2 separate regions of the Homo sapiens genome follow, and region 2 is linked to region 1. Evidence: promoter capture Hi-C in 16 types of primary human blood cells and fetal thymus (Javierre and others, 2016). All regions are on one chromosome and are shown on one strand. Each heading gives the region's core, a stretch centred on a gene start or on the middle of the fragment in contact. The rest is flanking DNA. Distances are from core to core; before and after follow the strand shown.

Region 1 (6,456 bases), core at 2,243-4,742:
AACTCTGGGGTCAAGTGATCCACTCACCTCAGCCTCCCAAAGTGTTGGAATTACAAGCAGGAGCCACTGTGCCCGGCCCACAGTGCATCTTTTAAAAATCAGTAGTAGTTCTTTCCTTCTATCTTAGAGCCCTCAAGAGTCATGAGTCACCACCTTTGCAGCCCCATCTTGCATTGCCCTTATTTCCTCTGCTCCATCCACTGATCGTAGGCTTCCCAGTAAGCTTCCAAGAACGGGAGGAAAATATTTGTATTTAACTCCTAAGCTGTAACGCTTTCCTTCTCTGCTCATCTGTTGGTACAGAAATAGTATTCAGATAGCCAGGTGTAATGGCTCACACCTGTAACCTCAGCATCTTGGAAGGCAAAGATGAGTGGATTGTTTGAGCCCAGGAGACCAGCCTGGGCAACATGGCAAAACCCTGACTCTACCGAAAAAAAAAAAATTAGCTAGGCATAGTGGAGCATACCTGTAGTACCAGCTACTTGTAGCGGGGAGGGGGTTTGAGATGAAAGGATCACCTGAGCCTGGGAAGTCAAAGCTACAGTTAGCTGTGGTCATGCCACTGCACTCCATCCTGGTCGACAGAGTGAGATCCTGTCTCCAAAAAAAAAAAAAGAAACAGTATTCAGACAGTTATACCAAATAACAAATAGAAGAAATAACCAAAGCTTTGTTCTTTCACTTCCAATAATAATCATTTCCATGTGGTGTTCACTTTGGATTTTTAATTGACGGTAGACAAAGACCAAAACTGAAAATGTTGAATTAACTTTTCTGATTGTCAAGCACATGGGCTAAATATGTTGAGAATATATCAACTGCTAGATAGATATAACCTAACTGAAAAATTGTGCCCCAAATAGTGCAAATGCTCTAAAGTTCTATATACATTAGTTACAGCAAGATTTCTTTTGTAGTTACTAACCTTCAGGAGAAACAAACTAATCCACCACAAATCTGAATCTATTAAATACTGAGCCATGTAAAAATAGGATTCTACTGTATTTGTATTCAAAAAATAGCATCAGAAACTTCTCCATCCCCTAGTTTCAGCCAAATATGGCTCTTCCCTGCTTTAACCTTTTTTTTTTTTTTTTTTGAGACAGAGTCTCACTCTGCCACCCAGGCTGGAGTGCAGTGGCGCGATCTCGTCTCACTTCAACCTCTACCTCCCGGGTTCAAGTGATACTCCCGTCTCAGCCTCCCAAGTAGCTGGGACTACAGGTGCGTGCCACCTTGCCCAGCTAATTTTTGTATTTTTAGTAGAGACGGGGTTTCACCATATTGGCCAGGCTGATCTCGAACTCCTGACCTGGTGATCTGCCTGTCTTGGCCTCCCAAAGTGCTGGGATTACAGGCATGAGCCACCGCGACTGGCCTTGCTTTAACCAATTTAGCTTACTAGACACAAGCCCATCAGCAGTAGTCATGGATATCATCTACAGTGCTATTTTGAATACAGCTTCTAAATTCTTGAAAACAATCAAACATTAGCAATGTAAAATTAAGCTCAAGATGAGAAGCTTCAAGTTGAGATACCTGAATATGGTGATTAGAACTAAAACAAGAAACTGCCCAGGCACGGTGGGCTCACGTCTGTAATCCCAGCACTTTGGGAGATCAAGGCAGGCAGATCACTTGAAATCAGGAGTTCGAGACCAGCCTGGCCAACATGGTGAAACCCCCATCTCTATTAAAAATACAAAAATTAGCCAGGCGTGGTGGCGCGGGCCTGTAGTCCCAGCTACTCAGGAGGCTGAGGCAGGAGAATCGCTTGAACCCGGGAGGCAGAGGTTGCAGTGAGCCGAGATCACGCCACTACACACTCCAGCCTGGTGACAGAGCGGAGACTCCGTCTCAAAAAAAAAAAAAAAAAAAAAAAAGAACTAAAATAAGAAACAAGGACTTTTTTATAAAATCACCCAGTCCTGTCATCTAGCCCTATGCCAATCCGACAAACTCAGAATCAACTTCTAGGAGGAGCCTAAGAAATCCCTTTCCGTTTAAAGGTTTTAGGCAAGTTGACACAAGCCAGGTCCCCTATGCATATTGGAAATATCAAGTCTGCCCCTAGGTCAGCCTTGTTCAGTTTTGCTTAAACACCCTAAAAAAAAAAATTCTAGATGTGAGCATGTGAAAATAAGAGTGAATTAAATTCTCAGTATTCAGACGTCAATGTAATGACTAAAAATTATTAGGCAAGGAAAGAAGAGAAATCTTAAGAAAATATCCTTTAAATGCTAATTTCTCCACAACAGTAAAACAGTATATGGGTGAGTTTCAACTTCTAAGTTTTTTATTAGTTTTCTAAACACAGACTAAACATGGAATGAGTGCATCACAACGAAGCCTTCAAAGGAGTTATTCCTCAGGCTGTAACCCCTGTTTTCAGAGGACCTGAGGCTTATCTACTGCCTCCATATCCACATCTGGCCATCCCATCCTTCTGCCCTTCCCCCTCCACGTTCCCCTCCACTCGTCTGGAACAAACGATAAGTAAGTGAAATAATGACCAGCACTAAACATGACGCCAAAGTTGGCATTTACAAATGATTTTCAAAACAACTCCCCAGTGGACCTAATCAACCTAGGCAGGGCACACTATCCAAAACCTATTTGCTGGTTGTCTAAAAAGATAAAACTCATCCTCTTCAGGGAAGTCCTCTGGGAGGAAGGGCGCCTCTAGGAAGCAAGGGGGCGGCTCCAGACCCCTTTCTCAGGGACCCCCGTCTGTGTCCAAGGGATCCCGACCCGCAAGTAGCCTTGTTTCAGTGTTACATCTACAGAACTTGTCATCCCAACTTCCCAGCCCTAAGACGAGAGAGGAAGTTAAAAGGGTCCTGGGATGACAGGGGAAAGTACGACAGTCTTATCTTCTGTGCTTGGGACCCAGAAAAGAGCAATGGGCAGCCGCGACGGAGCCATTCAACCGAGCACCGCTTGGATACGGATTGTGCAGGCGAGTGGGAGATACCCACGAGAAGCGCACAAACAAGCCCGGGAATGCGAGCGAAGGCAGAGACGGGGGTGATGAAGGAATCCAGGCGCTGGCCCCGGGGTGTGCCGGGGGGGAAGAACCTCCTCAGGGCTGCAGGAGCCCACGAGTACTCGAAGCCCTATGGGGAGGCGGCGGTTAGGTAGTCCGAGCGCTCCGCGCAGTCCCGGGGCCCCGCTTGGTGGTGACGCCGGGCCCCGGGAGCGCTGGGCCAGGAGGGTCGGGACGAGGGCGGGCGACGGGCGGCGGGCGGCGGGCGGGGGCCCAGGTCCACCCGAACAAAGCCGGCGCGTGCGGGGCCTGGCTACTCACAACAAGAAGCTCATGTTGGCCGCGGGGCAGGCTGCAGGCTCGGCGGTCGCGAGGCCTCGGAGCGGCGTGGGCCAGGAAAGAAGAGGAAAGGCGAATGGAACAGGAGACAGGGAGGCGGAGGAGGAGGTGCCGAGAGCCGGCTGCTCGGTGGCCGCAACTAGTTCGGCTCAGCTAGTTCCAATGGCAGGGGGAGGGGGCGGAAGTGGGTAGCGCTCGTCTTGAATCACTCCAGGGGAGGGGAAGGAAAGGGAGGCGGGGCAGGCTCTCCGCGAGCCCCTCCCCAGCTCCCCGCCGCCCCCACCTCACGAGCTCTCGCGATAGCGGTGCAAGCCCACCCCGGCCCTCCGGCTGCGGCATGGGGACTCTCACCTTCTGGTCTCCTCTGCTGCTAGGGACGACGCCCAGCGTGTGCGCCGCGGCTGCCCGGCCCCCCTGTCCACCCGGTTAGGAGTCATGGCAGAGCTCTCGGAGCCGCTCAGCTGGGCTCCAGAGGTCAGGGAGGAAGTGGGCTTCAGCTCGGGGATGTCAAGGTCCCGCAGTGAGGGATGGAATTACCACCGGAGTTAGGCCCACCGTGAGTGTCCGGCCAAGGGCGGTGAAAGGTAATGGCATCTCTCAGTTCACCACGGAACCCAGCATGATAGGGTGGTCATCGGTGTAACCACTTAGGGGGCCAAAGCTTGTAAGCATTCTAATGCACAGAACATCCTAGAAGCTAGAAGCTATTCAGACCCACTTACAAAGGGACTTTTATTCTCACAGGGTTATGGGGCCCAGGGCAAGCCTTTATATTCTGTTTAAGAATCCTTCACATACCTTGAATATGTCACCACAGCATTACCAATTTAGGAGGGAAATACGGGTATCGAAGAGATGTCCGTCTTCTTTACTCACAACACCCATCAAATCTACAAGTTTTCAAAGAGAATCTGAGCAAAACAAATCATGTGCAGATATTAGCTCACCTTTGGCTTATCCCAAAGGGCAGAATACACTTTGAAGTAGGTGCAGATATGAAATGTATTATACTGCATATATGCACTATTATTTGGCACGTTGGTAAAGTGGTAAAAAAAAAAAAAAAAAAAAAAAAAAAAAAAAAAAAAAACGTTTTAGGCCGGGCGCAGTGGCTCATGCCTGTAATCCCAGCACTCTGGGAGGCCGAGGTGGGTGGATCACCTGAGGTCAGGAGTTCAAGACCAGCCAAAGTTCAAGACCATGGCCAAACCCCGTCTCTACTAAAAATACAAAAATTAGCCGGGCATGGTGGCACACACTTGTAATCCCAGCTACTCGGGAGGCTGAGGCAGGAGAATTGCTCCAACCCAGGAAGCAGAGGTTGCAGTGAGCCAAGATCATGCCACTACACTCCAGCCTGGGTGACAGAGTTAGACTCCGTCTCAAAAAAAAAATTTTTTAATAGAAGAAAATACTAGAATCTTGCACTATCTCAGGAACAGCAGAGGTTACTGGAATGAGAAAACTTACAGACTCAAAAGATTACCAGATCAGGATAAATAGCTAATGCATGCAGAGCTTAATACCTAGGTGATAAGTTGATAGGTTCAGCACACCACCATGGCACACACGTTTACCTATGTAACAAACCTGCACGTCCTGCACATGTATCCTGGAACTTCAAATTAAATTAAAAATTTTTTAAAAGATTCCCCAAAAAGAAGAAAGAGGAGGATTTATCTGAATGAAAATAATAGATTTATGGTATAAAACCCTGTGCTCCAAATATTGATATGGTACTGACTTACTGTATAATTCTTTTTTTTTTTTTTTTTTTTGAGACGGAGTCTCACTCTGTCACCCAGGCTGGAGTCCAGTGGTGCAACTTCTGGACTAGGCTCACTGCAACTTCTGCCTCCTGGGTTCAAACAATTCTGCCTCAGCCTCCTAAGTAGCTGGGATTACAGGCCTGTGCCACCACACCTGGCTAATTTTTGAATTTTTAGTAGAGACGGGGTTTTACTATGTTGGCCAGGCTGGTCTCAAACTCCTGACCTCGTGATCTGCCTGCCTTGGCCTCCCAATATGCTGGAATTACAGGCGTGAGCCACCACGCCCAGCCCTGTATGATTCTTGTAAGGGTCTTCTGAAAGTAAGACTTGCATTACCAGATTACTGATTATCTTTGGAAAGAGTGAGTTGACCTGTCATAGCCTCAGTTTTAGCCCATTTAAAATGGGAGCCTTCTATCATTACATGATCTCTAAAATATCTTCCAGTTCTAAAGTTCTCTCCTGCCAGGGGCATCCTTCAAATGACTGGCACACATTTCCAAACTGCTCCCTGATTTGGCTTAGGTAGCCTTAGTTTTGGTCTGACATAATTTAGATGTATCCTGTGACACTGAATAAGGGAAAACTGGCAGAGGAAAGAATCTGCAAAAATACCTTCTGAGTATTTCTTTATCATACCACTAGGAGAGTTGCCTGGAATTAACATCCAATAAAACGTAAATATACTGGTCCTAAATGTGAGGGAGGTGTCAGGTTAATAATATACAATATGATTCCAGGTTAGACTTTAAATCAAATGATGTCTGTCATATAAAATTATTCAGCATATCAAAAACATTGGGAATTTCAGAATCAAAGAGAGTTTATATTCAAATAGATATTTATAATTATCATCTCTTCTGACCAAAATCTAATAACCTTTTGTTTATGAAGCAAGATTATTAAAATTTTTGTTCTATCCAACTTTTCAAAGAATTGAAATTATACTGTAACATGTACAGAATAGAACAGAACATGAGTGGGCATATGCTCTTTAAATATTCATTTGAATAAAGACACATGCACATGTTTGTTTATTGCAGCACTATTTACCGTAGCGAAGACTTGGAACCAACCCAAATGCCCATCAACGAGAGACTGGATAAAGAAAATGTGGCACATATACACCATGGAATACTATGCAACCATAAAAAAGAATTAGTTCATGTCCTTTGCAGGGACATGGATGAAGCTGGAAACCATAATTCTTAGCAAACTAACACAGGAACAGAAAGCAAACACCACATGTTCTCACTCACAAGTGGGAGTTGAACAATGAGAACACATGGACGCAGGGAGGGGAACATCACACATCAGGGCCTGTCGGGGGGTGGGGGGCAAGGGGAAGGAAAGCAT
Region 2 (6,456 bases), core at 1,346-3,845, 1.1 Mb after region 1:
TTTCCTGGAAATCAACTTGTCCATAAAATCATTACCATTCTAAATAAAGTTAATATTCATTTTGTGCAGCCATCTATTTTAGTATATTAAAATTGGCATTTGGTGCATAGAAAGGGGAATTAAGTTTGTAATAGAATGTGTTAAGATGGTAGTGTTTCCAATAAATTCTTCTCCCTCTCCCGTGCAATTTGGGTAATTATTTTGAAAATGTTGCCTTTTGTCACAGGTACTACTTGGGTTAGTGAAATTATAGACATGATTCTAAATGATGGAGATATTGAAAAATGTAAGCGAGGTTTTATTACTGAAAAAGTTCCAATGTTGGAAATGACTCTCCCTGGATTAAGAACATCAGGTAAATTTAACCCACTTGGAATTATTATTTTGTAATATTATTTAGACAGCATATGCATTATTGTATGTGTGACTTTCACTGAAACCGGAGTAGATTTGGTGACATAAAATGGAAGGTGGCAAACAATATAAAACTGAAGAATAAGAAGAAACTTTATTTTTATCTGTTGTACATCCAGGTATGATATCAAAGATGAAAGAGTCTTACTGTACAAAACAATTAAAAATTTGATTGATAAAATAAACAATATTTTTAAGACTTTTATTTGGTAGAATTTGTCTGATTAGATTAGTAAGTTCCTAATTTAGGACTTTGTTGTAATTAATAAATAAGAAGCAACTTTTCTTAAAACATAAAATTCACTAATACTATTAATTTTTCTTCCACAAAATATTTATGGAATGCTTGTAAAGAATTATTCACTGTGCTATGGTATAGATATATAAGATTAGAAATTGTATATTGTATCACAGGGAGCTTACAGCAATATTGTGACGTCAAAAAGTAAATAACAATATGTCAATGTTCATAGTCTTACATAGTCAAATAATAGGGTTCTGTGGAAGCGAACAATAGGAAAGCTTACTTTAAGTGGGTAATAAAGGAAAAAAACTTAGACAAATTAAATGAGTTTAATTGAGCAAAGGACAATTCACAAATCAGGCAGCCTCTTGAGCCAAAATAGCCTCAGAGATTCCAGAATAGCTACATGGTTTATGGAAGGAAGGAATGTGACATACAGAGAACAGACTTGAGATATAGAAACAGCTGGTTTAGTTAAAGTTTAGTGTCTGACTTATTTGAACACAGTCTGAAGAGCTGGCCACCTTTGATTGGCCAAAACTTGGTGATTCGCACAAGGGTAGAATGTAATATGTTTACACATCCAGTTAGGTTACAATTCACTATGTATAGAGAAACCTTTAAGCCAAACTTAAAATGTGTAAGATGACAGCTTTAGTCTAAACTTAATTTAACAAGGGGTATCTACTCCAAATTGAGATTAAAAAGTTGTACATACTTGGGGAAAGAATATCCCAGGATACAGTCCTGGAAAGCATATTCCAGGAAGATCTTGATATAGTCCGGAGACTAAAATGATCCATGAAAGAAGGAAAAAGTGGGATGCAAAACAATTGGAAATTAGGCTAGGATAGACCATGTAGGACTTGTAATTCTTAAAACATTTTCTCATTTTATTCCAAGAACATTGAGGAAGATATTGAAGGGTTTTATGCAAAGAAAAATTATATAGAGTTTTTGTTTTTTGTTGTTGTTTTAAATACAAAGACTCCACAGGTTGCTTGGTAGAGGTGGAATTGAGGATGCTAGATAAGACATATTTGTGACTTGTTGATGGACTGTAAAAGAAATATGAAGAAAATGAAAGAAAAATGACAGTTTTATTTTTCATCAAGCAAGTGGACTATGGAACCATTCGCTTGCAAGGAAAAGTACTTGGAGAGGAACACATTTGGGTGTAGGGTTATTAATAATTCAATTGTGAAATGTTAGCTTTGTGACATTGGAGAAAATTATAATGAATTAAAATGATGGTATTTGGAGCTTGTAAAAATATATTCATTAGGCAATGCTCAGCATAATTGGACATTGGAATCAATGTGACTGCCCAAGGAAAGCCTGTGGAGCTATATGAGAAGAGAAGCAATGAGCTGTGAAAAACATCAACATGCAGAAGTTAGGTGAGAAAGAGAAGCTAGCAAAGGAAACTGAAAAAAAATGAGCTAACAGGGAATGCAAGAGTATGGTGTTCTGTAAGTAAATGAGAGGGGTATTCAAGAAGTGAAGCTTGACTTTCAAATGCTGCTGGAATCCTGGGAAACAAATAAGTAGTAGGATAGTGATAGACCTGTATGCCAATGTGAAGAGAAATATCCAAATCCTCTTCTATAATGGAGGTGCCCCTCAGCAGGCTGACTGAACTAGTTACTTCCGTAGGCAGAGACGGATCAACTGGCAAGATGTCAGTCCTTCTATGTCATTGCCAGAATTCAGACAGCAAATGCCAATTTTTGTTTTGTTTTGTTTAAAAAATATATTCAATTTTTCAAAGTTACAAATATAAAATCCCAGTTGTTTCCTAAGCCATTAAGTTCAGCTTATAAATATTATTATTTTACTTATATAACAAAAGGAGTTTAATATTCAATCCAAGTTTTATTTAATTAAGCTCCTTTAAACACTTAAGTGGCATTTATATATTAATATATTTCATTTCCTTGAGTACTTAATTTATCTGACCAAGACAAACCTTCCCAAGTACTTATAGTCCAATAAATTAAGCTCATAAATACAGCAAATCTTAGCCATTTTAAATGTTCCAAAACTACATAGAAACTTAGCAATGATTCCACCACTGTACTCCAGCCTGGGCGAAAGAGCAAGACTCTGTCTCTAAACAAATTTAAAAAAGAAAATTAGACACTTAGCAAGATTTCAACTTAAAATTCAAGTATAAATACTCAACATTTTTTACTTAGCATTACAAAGCAAATCTGTTACTCTCACAAAGTTGTTAATCTTACATTTGTCAAGGACTTAAAATGCAAACTGCAAAGTTTCTTAAAACAAATGGTTATGATAAGATGTTCTTAAACATGACTATGTTATGTCTTGATGTTCTTAAACATGCCTATCCTTGGAAAGCTTGGAACTGAGGGATTATGCTGGGGCAAGGAACCAAAATGAGTTCAAGAGGGAGGCAAGACTTCAGAACCATAGAAAGTATGAAATGAAAAAGTGACAGAACCAAAGTAATCAGAGACATGGGAGTCAGGGATAACAGATGGAAGGCAGGATTGGGGATAGAGAGGGAGGATATGCAGCATTGCCTGACAGTGAATGGCTGAAGTTCATCAGGTAGATGAGGGTAAACTGCAGCATTTAAATCTACTCTAGGCCGGGCGCGGTGGCTCACGCCTGTAATCCCAGCACTTTGGGAGGTCGAGGCGGGTGGATCACGAGGTCAGGAGATCGAGACAGTCCTGGCTAACACGGTGAAACCCCGTCTCTACTAAAATATACAAAAAATTAGCCGGGCGTGGTGGCGGGCGCCGGTAGTCTCAACTACTCGGGAGGCTGAGGCAGGAGAATGGCGTGAACCCGGGAGGCAGAGCTTGCAGTGAACTGAGATCGCGCCACTGCACTCCAGCCTGGGCGACAGAGTGAGACTCCGTCTCAAATAAACAAACAAACAAACTCCAGAGCCTGAATGTGGATAATTTTGTTGTCTTTATACATTGCTAACACTCATACTTGTGGATATAAAGGGTTCATTAAAAGACTCACTTGGCAAAATGATTGCAAAATAGGGGAAATTGAGAAATCTTTCAGGGAAGCTGAATGCGGAACAAGGAACAACAGATGTGAGAAAAACTTCTTAAAAGAAACAGACATAAGTTCATCTAATGGACATTAAGTAATAACGAGTTGTGGAGGATTACAATTTCTCATTTTTATATGCTGGGTAAAGTGACTGTAGCTGCTAGATCAGTAGAGGCATAGTAAAATCCCTGATGGAGTTGTATAGTAATTTATGTTTACAGTCATTTATATTGGCAAATAAAATACAGGACAATTAATTAATTTCAAATTCAGATAAATAACCATTTTATTAAGTATGTAAGTACTTTCCAAATGTTGTAAGGGAAATATTCTTGCTAAAAACAACCTATTTATCTGATAATTCAAATTTAACTTGGATTTTCACATTTTTTAATTTCCTGTATGCCAAACCTGTGTCTACTGACATTAAATAGGCTTCTTCATATTAACCATGTGCTAGTCACGGTTCTCGATGGACATTTATTTATGAACAAAACAAGTTACATCTCTGTTCTTATGAAATCTCCATTTTAGTCTAAGTTTAGGAGTGAGGTTGGGGAAGGGACATGGGGACATACAGTAAGCAAACAAATAAGTAAATAAACTATGAAGTCAAAATGTGTTTCATAGAACATTAAGAGAAAAATGTAATAGGCTGAATGACTTCTTAGCATATGCAGTGAATTACTGTGAACATTTAAAACAAAGCATTGTTTTCAATGAGTGAGTCAGATGCAATTTTGTGTGGGTTTGCCTTTCTATTCAGAGATGGCAAGATTATGTAAGATTATCAGGTATTCTAGAGTTTAGACTGTATATAAGTAATACTGTGGAACATAAAAGAATGCATAAGAAGTTTATGTATCATCTATCTTAAGACCTTAATTTGAAATCAAGTTCTACCACATATTTGTTGTATGACTTTAGAGAGTTAAGCTAATATCTAAAGATTACACATTTTTACTGTCTATACATATATGGAGAGACATATGACACATATAGGATATAATGAAAATATAGATAAAACAGCTGATATTATATACAAAGTTAACATCATCTATGCTACAGTACCTAATACAACACGATAGCCAGTTTTAGACTTACTAGTTATTGATACCTCTTTGGCATGAAGAAAACATTTAAATAGTCATTTATAGCAATGCACAGGTATAATAAAACTCCAAATTATTAAAGAGGGTATTATTATCTCTCCTTTTGGAGATGGAGAAAGTGAAGTACAGAGATTCTGAGATACTTTCAAAGTGTCTCACAATGCTTAAGTGATAGAGTTAGCATTTGAACTCAGGGTGGCTAACCTCAGAATGTGTATCCTTGAATGTTACACAATACTGACTCTAGTAATGTGGTGAAATGCCTGTGATTGTTTCAGAATTTATCTGCATTACATAATGCTCAAAAATGTCTTGAAAAACTGGTTGGCAAAATAAGGAAACGTAGCCTTTCTGGAGACTCTAATATTTCCCTATACTTAACTAAATTTCTCAGGTATAGAACAATTGGAGAAGAATCCATCACCCCGGATTGTGAAAACACATCTACCGACTGATCTTCTTCCTAAATCTTTCTGGGAAAACAATTGCAAGGTATACTCCAGACTCCATGTCAGTTTTTTAGTATGGCCCTATCCCTTTACCCACTCACATAGTTTATTTTTTAAAATATTTTTTGTTTCTTTAACCATATACTTGCAACAATCTATACTATACCCACTCACGTTGTACGTAAATCTTCAAAAGCCATTAAGTTTTAGTCTGAGTTTATATACTCAAGTTTTCCAAACTTGAGCAGCAACAGAATCCAAACCTCAGCACAATATTACTACTTTTTTTTCCAACTCTCCCTAGATCTTCAGGCCTTCTGTAAAAACTGAACTTAAGGACGTTAGTCCTTATTTGAAGATTTGGTATAATTCTTTGTTGTAACATTTGTTCCTGCTTATCTGCTTTTGGGGAAATTTTATACTTCAAATTCTATTTATTTAATAGCTACAGTGCTATGTAGATTATGTGTTTTTTTCTTATCTGACTTTTGACAATTTGTGATGTGTGAGAAACTTTTCTAAGTTGTTGACTTTATGAATGAAAAGTTGTTAATATTATACTCATTATTATTTTAACGGCTGCAGGATTTGTTCTGATACCCTGTTTTGTTCCTGATCTCAGTTATTTGTGCCTTCTCCTTCTTTTTTGTCCCTCTTAAGTATATTAATTTTATTGATATTATTAAAGCTAGTTTTTCGTTTTATCAATTATTTCTGTTGTTTATCTGTTTTTAGTATCATAGATTTCTGCTTTTTTTCTCTATCGTTTCTCTCCATCTACTTACTTTGGATTTATTTTACTCTTCTTTTTCTAATCTCTTTAAGTAGGAACTGATATTATTGATTTGTTTCTTTCCTATTTTCTAAAATAAGCCTTTAGTGTTGTAAATATGTTTCCTCAGTAAAGCTTTAGTTGCATCCCACACATTTTGATATGTCATGCTTTCAATTGCACTCAATGCTATGCACATTTTTATTTTATCTGAAATTTCCTCATTTACTGCAAGATTTTGAAGTGTATGATTTAACTTCTAAGTGTTTGAGGATTTTTATGTTTTCATTCTGTTATTGATTTCTAATTTTATTCCGTTTTAGTCAAAGATCATACTCTACATAATTGCAATTCTTTTAAATTTCTTATGGTTCATCTTGTTCTATCTTGTTAAATGTTTTCTGAGCTCTTGAGCAGGTTGCA

Evidence for each region. The method cuts DNA at HindIII sites, captures the fragments that hold promoters and counts their contacts. A CHiCAGO score of 5 or more calls a contact.
Region 2: a contact is called between a fragment that was not itself captured here and the fragment with the promoter of MOB1B in region 1, in 1 of 17 cell types (M0 macrophages). The highest score is 7.1, in M0 macrophages.

The regions. Positions count from the first base shown.
Region 1 is chr4:70,899,405-70,905,860 of GRCh38, reverse strand. MOB1B (MOB kinase activator 1B) reads right to left here and starts at 3,492. Exons shown (of 6, transcript NM_173468.4): 1 at 3,311-3,492. The coding sequence starts at 3,324. It overlaps LOC124900711 (a long non-coding RNA gene), which reads left to right and starts at 3,630. Exons shown (of 2, transcript XR_007058132.1): 1 at 3,630-3,912; 2 at 6,144-6,456. RefSeq lists silencers at 3,163-3,212, 3,523-3,672. The HindIII fragment of the contact is 2,463 bases long and covers 1,529-3,991 here.
Region 2 is chr4:69,748,569-69,755,024 of GRCh38, reverse strand. It overlaps SULT1B1 (sulfotransferase family 1B member 1), which reads left to right. Exons shown (of 8, transcript NM_014465.4): 3 at 227-355; 4 at 5,207-5,304. Among named protein-coding and RNA genes, the nearest start is that of SULT1B1, 8.8 kb to the left of the region's middle. The HindIII fragment of the contact is 858 bases long and covers 2,167-3,024 here.